4 separate regions of the Homo sapiens genome follow, and all the other regions are linked to region 3. The links are contacts of gene promoters, found by promoter capture Hi-C in human tissues and cell types (Jung and others, 2019). All regions are on one chromosome and are shown on one strand. Each heading gives the region's core, a stretch centred on a gene start or on the middle of the fragment in contact. The rest is flanking DNA. Distances are from core to core; before and after follow the strand shown. Region 1 has its middle 28 kb from the start of LINC01252. Region 2 has its middle 18 kb from the start of LINC01252. Region 3 holds the start of LRP6 (LDL receptor related protein 6). Region 4 overlaps ETV6 (ETS variant transcription factor 6).

Region 1 (2,700 bases), core at 181-2,680, 690 kb before region 3:
GAATCCTTGATGAAGGGTCATGCACATTTTTATTTCTGTATCTACTTTAAATGTGTTAATACTATAGAGTTGCAGAAATTTGAAGTAATTTTAAATTGCTCTTATGGACAAAACCCTAAGCCTCCACTACTTTGCAATGATGGAAAAGGCCACAGAGCACTTTGAAAAATCATACTTTTATCCCCATTATCTCAGCCAAATGTGAACTGTGGCAAACATCATGTACCTGCAAGCTTCTCTCCACCTATAAGGCCCCTGTCTTCTTCACATGCTACCCTTTCTACCTGGGTGTGAGCATCAATGGTCTGGAGTCATAACTTCTGGGAGCAGGTCTGCTTTTGATCAACTATACCACTCACAAGATTTTATGTGCTTGGTTCTCTTCAACTATGCAAATAGTAGATCAACTAACAACTGTTCCAGCCATAAAGATGAAATCCTCTTCATTCTTACATTCTCTTATAATTGACAAAGTATTGAAATACTTAGTGATGCTCTACTGCTACTACAATAGCTAGATAGACCTTTTGTTCCATCATTAGTTGATTCCCCTCCATTCTGGGCCTGTTTTCATTAAGTTTTCCTTATATAATATGAGGAAACTGTGAAGCATGATTTCTCAATCTCATTATCAGCACTCTTGACATCTGGGGCTGTAAAATTCTTTGTTATGTAGGGCTGCCCTGTGCATCATAGCATCTCTGATCTCTGCCCACTAGATGCCAGTACCACTCCCCCAACTTCTAGTGTGACAACCAAAAATGTCTCCAGACATTGCCAAATGTCCCCAGGGAGTGAGGGGTAAAATTACCCTCAAACCCCAAATAAAAACCACTGTTGTAAAGAAAACTTAAATGTTATAATGTATATAAAGGGGACTCACAAACTATGCAGTTTAGGAATTATTATATTTTTAATGTTTTTTGTCAATGTGTTGTAGAAGAATATGAGATGAAATATAGGCAAAGAGTGAAAGGTGGTCCTTAGAGTGTATTCCAGTTTACTGTCTGTATGGAAGTTGCCTTATGAGAAAAGGCAGACAATCTCTAAGGATGCCTTAAAAGAGGTTTCTGTAGCTAGTCATGTAACAGTTAAGTTGGCCATGGTACCCACATCATGATTACCTTACAGCTTATTCCTTGGGCAGGGGACTAGCCCCTTTGCTGCTTGCTATAAGAGGTGCTGAGCCTTTAACCCTAGGTTCCCCGCATGTGGCACAACCCACTGTGTGAGTAGCTGCCCATTACCACCCCATGGGACTTTGGGACAGGAGAACCAGAATTACCATGCTGATGTTCCCACTGTGTGCTGTGCTGTCTTGCTTGAGTCTCTTTGTCTATTTTCACACCTCCAAAGTGGCAGCAAGCCAACCTGGTTACTGGCTTAGTCATCTCCTTGGCCTTCTTGTTACTCTTCACCATTCTCTATGAGGGAGGAGTTTCCCCTGATACTGGGTTAAGTTACTTCACTTCCCTTTGTCTTTGTTTCCACATTTTAAAATGGGGATAATAATGATAGTACTTAAATCTTAGTGTTGTTGTGAGGATCATTCAAGCTAATGTAATAGCCTGATAGGTAATTATGTCCAAACTAATGCCATGTTGCTTAGTTCTATTTTCTCCTATATGTCCCTGTGTTAGTCTGTTCCCACATTACTGTAAAGAAATACCTGAGACAGGGCAACTTATAAAGAAAAGAGGTTTAATTGGCTCATGGGTTTGCAGACTGTACAGGAAGCATAGCAGCTTCTGGTTCTGGGGAGGCCTCAGGAAGCTTCCAATCATAGTGGAAGGCAAAAGGGAGTAGGAGTCTCACATGGCAGGAGCAGGAGCAAGAGAGAGTAAGATGGGAGGTTTTACACTTAAATGATCTGATCTCATGAGAACTCACTCACTCACTATTGTGAGGACAGTACTAAGAGGGATGGTGCTACACCATTCGTGAGAAATCCACCTCCACAATCCTATCACTTCCCACCAGTCCCACCTCCAACATTGGGGATTACAATTTGATATGAGATTTGGGTGGGGACAAATATCCAAACTATATCAGTTCCTACCTTCTTAGATTGCCTACTAAACTCCAAATCCTACCTTTCTTTCACAGTGAAATTTACTTTTCTTTGTCATAGACTACATTTCCATTTCACAGTGCACATCATCTCACCATCTTTCTTGCTTTCTCTCTCCCTCAGTCTCCTCTACTCATTAACCTCCATCCTCCTTTGCCGGACAGATTCCTCCCTTTGTCTTTGGTGCAGTTGTTTGCAGACCAAATTTGTTGTAACACGCCCCTAGTATTTCAGTTTTTACTTCAAGGTGATTAAAAGATTTTCATCTAGTCAAGTCCCTCCTACCAATGAAATTCTTGTTAATAAAAGTTTCTTTATCACCTCACATAATTCATTGTTCAATGAATATTTTTGTTCCTATAGTGGGTTAATATTTTGATATTCAACTATGTGATTTTTCTTAATTCCTCTTACTTATCTTTTCTTTCCCCACCATTCAAGGAGTGTTAGGGTTTTAGAAATACAGATACAAAGATGATACAGAGAGAACAATTAAATCTTTAACCTGAAGCTCTTGAGAATAATTCTGTAAAGTCCATAGCAGAGAAAAAGGTCTTAAAAGTCATTGCTTTCCATTATTAGAGCCAGAGACTTAGAGAAACATGTTATTTAAATCCCCAAAGTCAGAC
Region 2 (2,700 bases), core at 5-2,504, 740 kb before region 3:
ATGAAATGTTGGGTTTTGTCTGTACTAAGTCTCTTTGCTCTGAAGTCTATTTTATTGGAAAATATAGCCACTCCTAACTACTTTCTTTAAATTAATTTTTCATGGTAATTTTTTTCATCCTTTCACTTTCAACCTACCTAGGTTATTGAATCTGAAATGAGCTCCTTGTACTCAATATATAGTTGAAGTGTGAGTGTGTGTGTGTCTCTGTGTGTGCTTTAACCTACTCCTCCCATCTCTGTCTTCGTGTTTGTGTATTTAGAGCATTTACATTTAAGGTAATCATCGATATGTTCGAGCTTAAGCCTCCCATTTTGTCATTTGTTTTCTGCTTGTTTCCTTGGGTTTTCATTCTGGTTTCTCTTTTCTTGTCTTCCTTTGAGTTACTTGAGTAAACTTCAGCATTTCATTTTGGTTTATTGATAATCTTTTTGAGTGTGTTTCTTTGTACCATTTTTATTTTGATTGCACTGGATATTTCAAGCATACATATGTGACTTATTGCAGTCTGCTGGTATCAGTGTTTTGCTATTTTAAGTGAAATGTAGGAATCTTTACCTTCCATGAGGGGAACATCACACACCGGGGACTGTTGTGGGGTGGGGAGAAGGGGGAGGGATAGCATTAGGAGATATAGCTAATGCTAAATGACGAGTTAATGGGTGCAGCACACCAACATGGCACATGTATACATATGTAACAAACCTGCCTGTTTTGCACATGTACCCTAAAACTTAAAGTATAATAATAATAATAAAAAGACAAGTAAATAGCAAATACCAATTGATTGAATGTCTGTAAATAAATAAATAAGCACATTAAAAAAAAAAGAAACCTTTACCTTCCATGATTTTTTATATTACTGTCTTGAGCATCAGATAATGTTATAATTTTGGCTTTGACCTTCAAATATTTTTATAAACCTCATGAGAAAAAGGATGCCCTACCCTTTGTACCCATATATCTGCTTTCTATGCTGTTCTTTATTTCTTTCTTTCTTTCTCTTTCTCTTTCTTTCTCTCTCTCTCTTTCTTTTCTTTCTTTCCTTAAAGTAGTTTTTTCCAATTCTGTGAAGAAAGTCATTGGTAGCTTGATGGGGATAGCATTGAATCTATAAATTGCCTTGGGAAGTATGGCCATTTTCACGATATTGATTCTTCTTATCCATGAGCATGGAATGTTCTTCCATTTGCTTGTGTCCTCTCTTATTTCGTTGAGCAGTGGTTTGTAGTTCTCCTTGAAGAGGTCCTTCACATCCCTTGTAAGTTGGATTCCTAGGTATTTTATTCTCTTTGAAGCAATTGTGAATGGGAGTTCACTCATGATTTGGCTTTCTGTTTGTCTGTTATTGGTGTATAAGAATGCTTGTGATTTTTGCACATTGATTTTGTATCCTGAGACTTTGCTGAAGTTGCTTATCAGCTTAAGGAGATTTTGGGCTGAGAAGATGGGGTTTTCTAGATATACAATCATGTCATCTGCAAACAGGGACAATTTGACTTCCTCTTTTCCTAACTGAATACCCTTTACTTCTTTCTCCTGTATGATTGCCCTGGCCAGAACTTCCAACACTATGTTGAATAGGAGCGGTGAGAGAGGGCATCCCTGTCTTGTGCCAGTTTTCAAAGGGAATGCTTCCAGTTTTTGCCCCTTCAGTATGATATTGGCTGTGGGTTTGTCATAAGTAGCTCTTATTATTTTGAGATACTTCGCATCAATACCTAATTTGTTGAGAGTTTTTAGCATGAAGAGCTGTTGAATTTTGTCAAAGGCCTTTTCTGCATCTATTGAGATAATCATGTGGTTTTTGTCTTTGGTTCTTTTTATATGTTGGATTACATTTATTGATTTGCGTATATTGAACCAGCCTTGCATCCCAGGGATGAAGCCCACTTGATCATGGTGGATAAGCTTTTTGATGTGCTGCTGGATTCAGTTTGCCAGTATTTTATTGAGGATTTTTGCATCGATGTTCATCAGGGATATTGGTCTAAAATTCTCTTTCTTTGTTGTGTCTCTGCCAGGCTTTGGTATCAGGATGATGCTGGCCTCATAACATGAGTTAGGGAGGATTCCCTCTTTTTCTGTTGATTGGAATAGTTTCAGAAGGAATGGTACCAGCTCCTCCTTGTAACTCTGGTAGAATTTGGCTGTGAATCCATCTGGTCCTGGACTTTTTTCTGTTGGTAAGCTATTAATTATTGCCTCAATTTCAGAGCCTGTTATTAGTCTAGTCAGGGATTCAACTTCTTCCTGGTTTAGTCTTGGGAGGGTGTATGTGTCCAGGAATTTATCCATTTCTTCTAGATTTTCTAGTTTATTTGCATAGAGGTGTTTATAGTATTCTCTGATGGTAGTTTGTATTTCTGTGGGATCAGTAGTGATATCCCCTTTATCATTTTTTATTGTGTCTATTTGATTCTTCTCTCTTTTCTTCTTTATTAGTCTTGCTAGCAGTCTATCAGTTCTGTTGATCTTTTCAAACAACCAGCTCCTGGATTCATTGATTTTTTGAAGGGTTTTTTTGTGTTTCTGTCTCCTTCAGTTCTGCTCTGATCTTAGCTATTTCTTGCCTTCTGCTAGCTTTTGTATGTGTTTGCTCTTGCTTCTCTAGTTCTTTTAATTGTGATGTTAGGGTGTCAATTTTAGATCTTTCCTGCTTTCTCTTGTGGGCATTTAGTGCTATAAATTTCCCTCTAC
Region 3 (2,700 bases), core at 39-2,538:
TCAAAAATCTTTGTGAACTGTCACAAAAGTCACAGAGCATGTGTCAGCTTTGCAGTCCAATTCAAAACATCATAGTGCCATCGAATTCAAGCGATTCCCAGAGCAAATTATCTCGAACAGCCTATGCAATTTACCAAAGTGCCAAGCAGTCCCCAGGGGTGCAGAGCAAATTATCATTTTGGTCCCAGGACCGGCTCCTCTTCACACGAGGATGAATTTCCCTACTTAGTGCCAACTGTACACTTGCATACTCCGAAAATAGGGGCAAGCCGTGAATACCAGAGGTTACAAGGGCAATGTTTTATTTTATTATGGGCTGAAGCTCAGAAGGCTCCCAATGCTGAAACGCTCGACCTATAACCCCGGAGTCACTTTCCAACTGCGCTCTCACCCAGGGTCATTATATCCCAAACGGAAGCCAATCATTACCTGTAACAAGGCCTGGAAAAAATAGCAAGAGGGCTTTAAAAGTTCACCTAAGAAACACCGAAACGGGGTGGGGAGTGGGTGGCGGGGCTTCGATGGATAAGGCCAACCTTAAAGCATCTCGGACTCAAACATTTTAAAAGCCAAAATACGTACAAAGACCCTTTTCCCTGGAAGACCCCAGGCAGAGAGAGGCACACAGACACTCAGTCATCCCGACAGCATGGGGTGCCAAGGGTTCCCTAAGACCAGCAGCCGGGATCGAAGCTCCGATGTGTCCGGGGAAGGTCTGGGAAGCCAGGCCAGGTCCGCATTGTGGCCGGGCGGTGCACGCAGCCCCTGCTCCCGGGCCCCTTTCTCTCCCCCTCCCCACGACCAGGCCTCTCCCCGCTCCTCTCCCCTTCTCCCTTCCTCCGTCCCTCCCCTCCCCCTAGACACATACAACAAGGCCACCTCCCCCCGAACCCCACCAACTTTCCAGTGCCCCCACTCTTCCCACCTCTCAGGAGCACACAGAAGCTGCAGGCCAGGAGGCTCCTCAGGACGGCCCCCATCTTCCCTTCTCGCGTTCTCTTCTCTCACCGGCGAGGGGTGGCCAGAAGTGGGGGAGGCGAGGAGCCGGGGCGGCCGCCGCAGCGGCAGGGCTGCACGCTCATACTTCCCAGCTTCCCAGCGAGAGAAGAAAGAAAGGGGCACGTCAAGGTTCCGCGCGCGCCGCCGCCGCCCTCTCTACCGCGCCGCTCGGCCCCGGGCTCGCGCGACGCCAGCGTCTGCTTCCATCCCGCCGCCTCCTCCCCCGGCGCCCCGCTTCCCCCGCGCAGCTCCTCATTCAGCCTCTGCCTCGCGCAGCGGCGCAGGGATACGGTCGGCACCGCCTCCTAGGGTCGCCGCGACCGTGTCCCTGCGCGCAACGAGCCCCTTCTCCCGGTACTGCCTCCTGTACGGCCAGGGAAGGGAGTCGGCAACCGCACGCACAGCCTCTGCCTGAGACCCTGGGAGAGGTTCTGGGCTAGCAGAGGCGAACTGGGAGGGAAAGCCTCCTCCCGGTGGCGCATTCCAGCGGGATTCTTTCCCGGACCGGCCGCTTCGGCCCTCCCCGCGGAGGGCGTGAGGCGGCGTTGAACAACATTGGAGCCGGCGTGGTCGGGACTACTTTCTGCGGCTCGGCCGGGCAGCCGTCTGCCCCGCTCTTTGTGCGGCCGCCGCCGGCAGGGCCAGGTGGGGCTCCGGTCTCGCGCCCCCAGCCACCTGAGACTGCCCAGCCGCGGTGCACGCGCGGGGAGCCACGGCGGATCCCGTTGCGGGGTGATGAGCTCCGTCTTCGGGGTTGGAAATCGGTTTCAGCATCCTTTTTTTGGGAGGGCGGAATTTTTGAACGCTGTTTACACCGGCTTTCAGCGTGGATCTGGTGAACGATATTAAAACGCCAATTCAAAACTGAGATTGTCATTTTTCTCCCGCCTTCCCAGAAATACAAACTGCCCCCAGAATTAAGCCCGACCAGCTAAAGATTTCTAAACTGGCAGATAAAATTCCAAGATAAATGCCTCAAAACCTAAGAGCAAAGGGACAATTGGACAAGACTATTTAGGATTTTACAAGTTGCATATAATAACGAATGTTTGGCATGCTTCGATTATCAATTCTCAGCTTGAGAAGGAAAAGATTCCCTAGAATCTCAGACTGTGCACAGCCTCTGCTACTCCCAGTGCATTGGGCATTCAGGAGTAATGGCCCAGACGCCCCCTGAAATCACCTGCCAGGCTTTCGTCTGGGCAGAGGCGCTCCAACAGTTAACCCTAATGGAGCCATCAGATGCATCCTGCCCAGCTGTCACACGCCCTTACCTGGAGGCAGATGGGCAAGAAAGTGGAGCTGCTACCACAATGTTAACAAGTACCTCAGTGACATTGGAGTTCACTAGTGCTTGAACACAAGTTATCATATTTGACACTCAAAACTACCCTGGGGAAAGGCAGGTTTTGTTACTTATTCTTTATTGCACAGAGGAGCAAAATGAGAACCTGAGAGGTTAATGACTTACCCAGGGCCACTCAAGTAATGAATAGCAGTACCTCAGCCCAATCCAGGTCTCTGACTTAAGCCACTCCGCTCCTTCCAAGAAATGCGCGCTGAACCAAAGGTGCTGCAGGTTTGTAAGTAGATGGACAGCAGAAACAGCCAAATCACTTTCTCCCAAATTCACCTGAGGTCTAGTCACCGTTTATTTAAATGACCTGCTTCTAAGAACCAAGTGAGTTTTGTATTCTGGCT
Region 4 (2,700 bases), core at 51-2,550, 600 kb before region 3:
CCCTTGTTTGGTCCACGATGCACTAACAGACTCTTCCCCTTGTTGCTTCTTACTGCTACTGGAATGGAAGCTTTGGGAGGGCAGGTGTGCCATCTTTTCCAGCCTGCCAGGCAGTCTGGTGCATACTCGTCTTTCTCCTCCATACCGGCTGTCACTGCCTTCCTTCTGGCCCCAGACCTTTCAGTTGTCTCCTCTCTGATCTTCCTTCCTCCATTTTGTCCCCACCCCCAACACAACTTGGAATGATTCTTTGCAGATAAAAATGTGATCTTGTTACTCTCTGTCTCACACCACAGTACCACAGTGTAGCATGAACCACAGCTTCTTGTCACCTGCAAGGCCCTTTACTGCCTACCTTTCTAGTATCATCTCCACATTATGTTCCAACCACATAATGAACTTTTTTCTCAGGAGGACATGGTCTCGCTCTGTGGCCAAGGCTAGAGTAATCTCAGCTCACTGCAACCACTGCCTTCTGGGCTCAGGTGATTCTCCCATCTCAGCCTCCCGAGTAGCTGACACCACAGGCACGTACCACCACACTAGGCTAATTTTTGTATTTTTAGTAGAGACAGGGTTTCACCAGGCTGGTCTCAAACTCCTGGGCTCAAGTGATCCGCCCAACTCGGCCTCCCAAAGTGCTGGGATTATAGGCATGAGCCACTATGCCCATCCCATGTAACAAACATTTATGCCTGGAATCTTCCCTCGATCTTCTTTCTGCCTGGCAGCCAATTTGTCATTGGAAGTCCATTTCTCAAGCCTCCCTGTTGCTGCTGGGCACAGTGTTCCCCCAGCTTATTGAACTTGCTTCTGTTATTGGCAACAATCCAGTTATCCTTGAATTATCATCCACACTAGACTGAAAGCCTGCTGAGGACAGGAGTCTGATGGGTTCATTTTTATATTTCCAGTGTCCAGCTCAAGGTCTGGCACAGAGGACAGCCAATGGCTATTAATTGAATAGAATTTCTTAATCAGTAGGTATTTATTAAGCTTCTGTTACGGACTTAATTGGTGCCAGGCTCTTTGATATGTAAGATAAAGACCTCACACAGTTGACATCCTGAGCAAATACTCTGTGAGGGTTGAGGAAAGAAGAAAGGTAGAGACCTGTGTTTTGAAACATATCAGGACTCCATGTCAGGGCGAACATACTGCCACCTCCCATACCTAAGGGGCTCCTGTGAGGCATAAGTACTGACATGTACACACAGGGCACTCACAAATGCTCTCCTTCTCAGTTGCCTACTTTCTAGAGGGGAATATAGATAGCTGGAGAAGAAGCTTGAGAACCTTCAGGCTGGATGTGCCAGAAACAGCAGAGACAGCCCAAGATAAATGAATGTATTAACTGATCATCCTTTTTTTTGATGTGGCTCAGGATGCCTCTTGGGTCAGGGAGAGAGAACCAGTGGCTGTTTGTTGTAGCTGTGTGCGGTCTTGGCCATAGCTGGCTGTGGTATCTGGGACCCAGTGGCAGGTCACCACCGTATGGGGCTGCCAGTTGCTCCCCCACCCCATTCCTCTAAGAGCTAGTAGGGAGAGAGAACCCGGAAGAGCAGCACGGCTTGCTGAAACTTCTCTGAGGTCTGTGATTGGCCTTTCCATGTCAAGGGAAGAATCCCTCTCTTACTTGAGTCAGCTCTTTCCAGTCTTCTCTTGTACAGCCCATGTTCTCTCCTACCCTATCTGAGATGAAGATCTCTCTGGAGCTCTCATTTTACTCCTAATGGGTTGCCTGGAGGGACTAAACCAGTGAGAATGACTGGGCATACTATGGGACTAGAAAAACAACTCAAAGTTATGTCTTACGGATGGTAGGACAGCCTCAATATTGCTGTTTACAGTGGATAGCCCAGTGACATTTATTTAAAGAGGGCAGTCTTAAGAGAGTGTGTTAGGGTTATGAATCTGATTAAGTGTGATCTGATAAGTGGGAAATGGACCACTTGGGAGAAATCAGGTTACTTTCAGATATAAGCAGACCAAACTGGGCCTTCCACACAAGCCTGAATAGCTCGTTTTCTCCCTATTTCTGTTGCCATTGAGGTACAGCTGGGATTCAGGGCATTAGGATATGTGAAAACTTTTAGCTTCCTGAACCCAACCAGACCCCAGCAAGAGTCCTTTTACAGTTTCCCCGAAACCGTCACAAGTTTTCCTGACCGCCTGCTGGGGGCTTTCTGTTGCAGACCTACGCGGCAGCTGCCTGCCAGCCCTGCCAGATTTGACTTCATCTTGGCTGCCGGTGGGTCAGTCTCCACGAGGCTTCTCTTGGCCTGTCTGTCCACTCAGGGCATTTAAGGGTCCTCTTGCTTTGCTCACATGGGCTCCTCGAGGGCTTGTGCAGTAGGTTGAGAGTTGTTACGGGTGCTGATCTGGACCACTTAGGGAGCAGAAAGCATAGGTCTGTATATGAATGTGAAAATACACATTTAAGAAGCTGCTCAGGTAGGGGCAGCCACGGAAGTTGTGCTCCCTCTTAAACACTCAGCGTACACACCTCATCCTCAGACAATGTGCTGCTTACATTTCCAGTGTCCAGCACGGTGCCTGGCACAGAGGAAGGCCGATGGATAGTAGTTGAACAGAATTTTTTTAATCATCAGGTCTTTATTAAGCTTCTATTATGGACTTCAAGTTTCCTCCATGAATGCTACCAGAACCCTTGCTCAATGTCTTCACTGTTGAGGCTGT

What was found. The method cuts DNA at HindIII sites, captures the fragments that hold promoters and counts their contacts. A contact is called where the count stands out against the background at its distance.
Region 1: a contact is called between a fragment that was not itself captured here and the fragment with the promoter of LRP6 in region 3, in 4 of the 25 tissues and cell types used here (dorsolateral prefrontal cortex, heart left ventricle, liver and 1 more).
Region 2: a contact is called between a fragment that was not itself captured here and the fragment with the promoter of LRP6 in region 3, in 1 of the 25 tissues and cell types used here (heart left ventricle).
Region 4: a contact is called between a fragment that was not itself captured here and the fragment with the promoter of LRP6 in region 3, in 3 of the 25 tissues and cell types used here (aorta, hippocampus and mesenchymal stem cells).

What each region holds. Positions count from the first base shown.
Region 1 is chr12:11,574,975-11,577,674 of GRCh38, forward strand. No RefSeq gene overlaps it. Among named protein-coding and RNA genes, the nearest start is that of LINC01252, 28 kb to the left of the region's middle. The HindIII fragment of the contact is 3,225 bases long and covers 1-2,700 here.
Region 2 is chr12:11,529,052-11,531,751 of GRCh38, forward strand. No RefSeq gene overlaps it. Among named protein-coding and RNA genes, the nearest start is that of LINC01252, 18 kb to the right of the region's middle. The HindIII fragment of the contact is 3,263 bases long and covers 1-2,700 here.
Region 3 is chr12:12,265,756-12,268,455 of GRCh38, forward strand. It overlaps LRP6 (LDL receptor related protein 6), which reads right to left and starts at 1,289. Exons shown (of 23, transcript NM_002336.3): 1 at 926-1,289. The coding sequence starts at 980. RefSeq lists a silencer at 980-1,289 and enhancers at 1,296-1,932, 1,470-1,519. The HindIII fragment of the contact is 18,079 bases long and covers 1-2,700 here.
Region 4 is chr12:11,664,624-11,667,323 of GRCh38, forward strand. The region is part of intron 1 of ETV6 (ETS variant transcription factor 6); the gene reads left to right. Among named protein-coding and RNA genes, the nearest start is that of ETV6, 16 kb to the left of the region's middle. RefSeq lists enhancers at 1,704-2,337, 2,338-2,700. The HindIII fragment of the contact is 4,639 bases long and covers 1-2,700 here.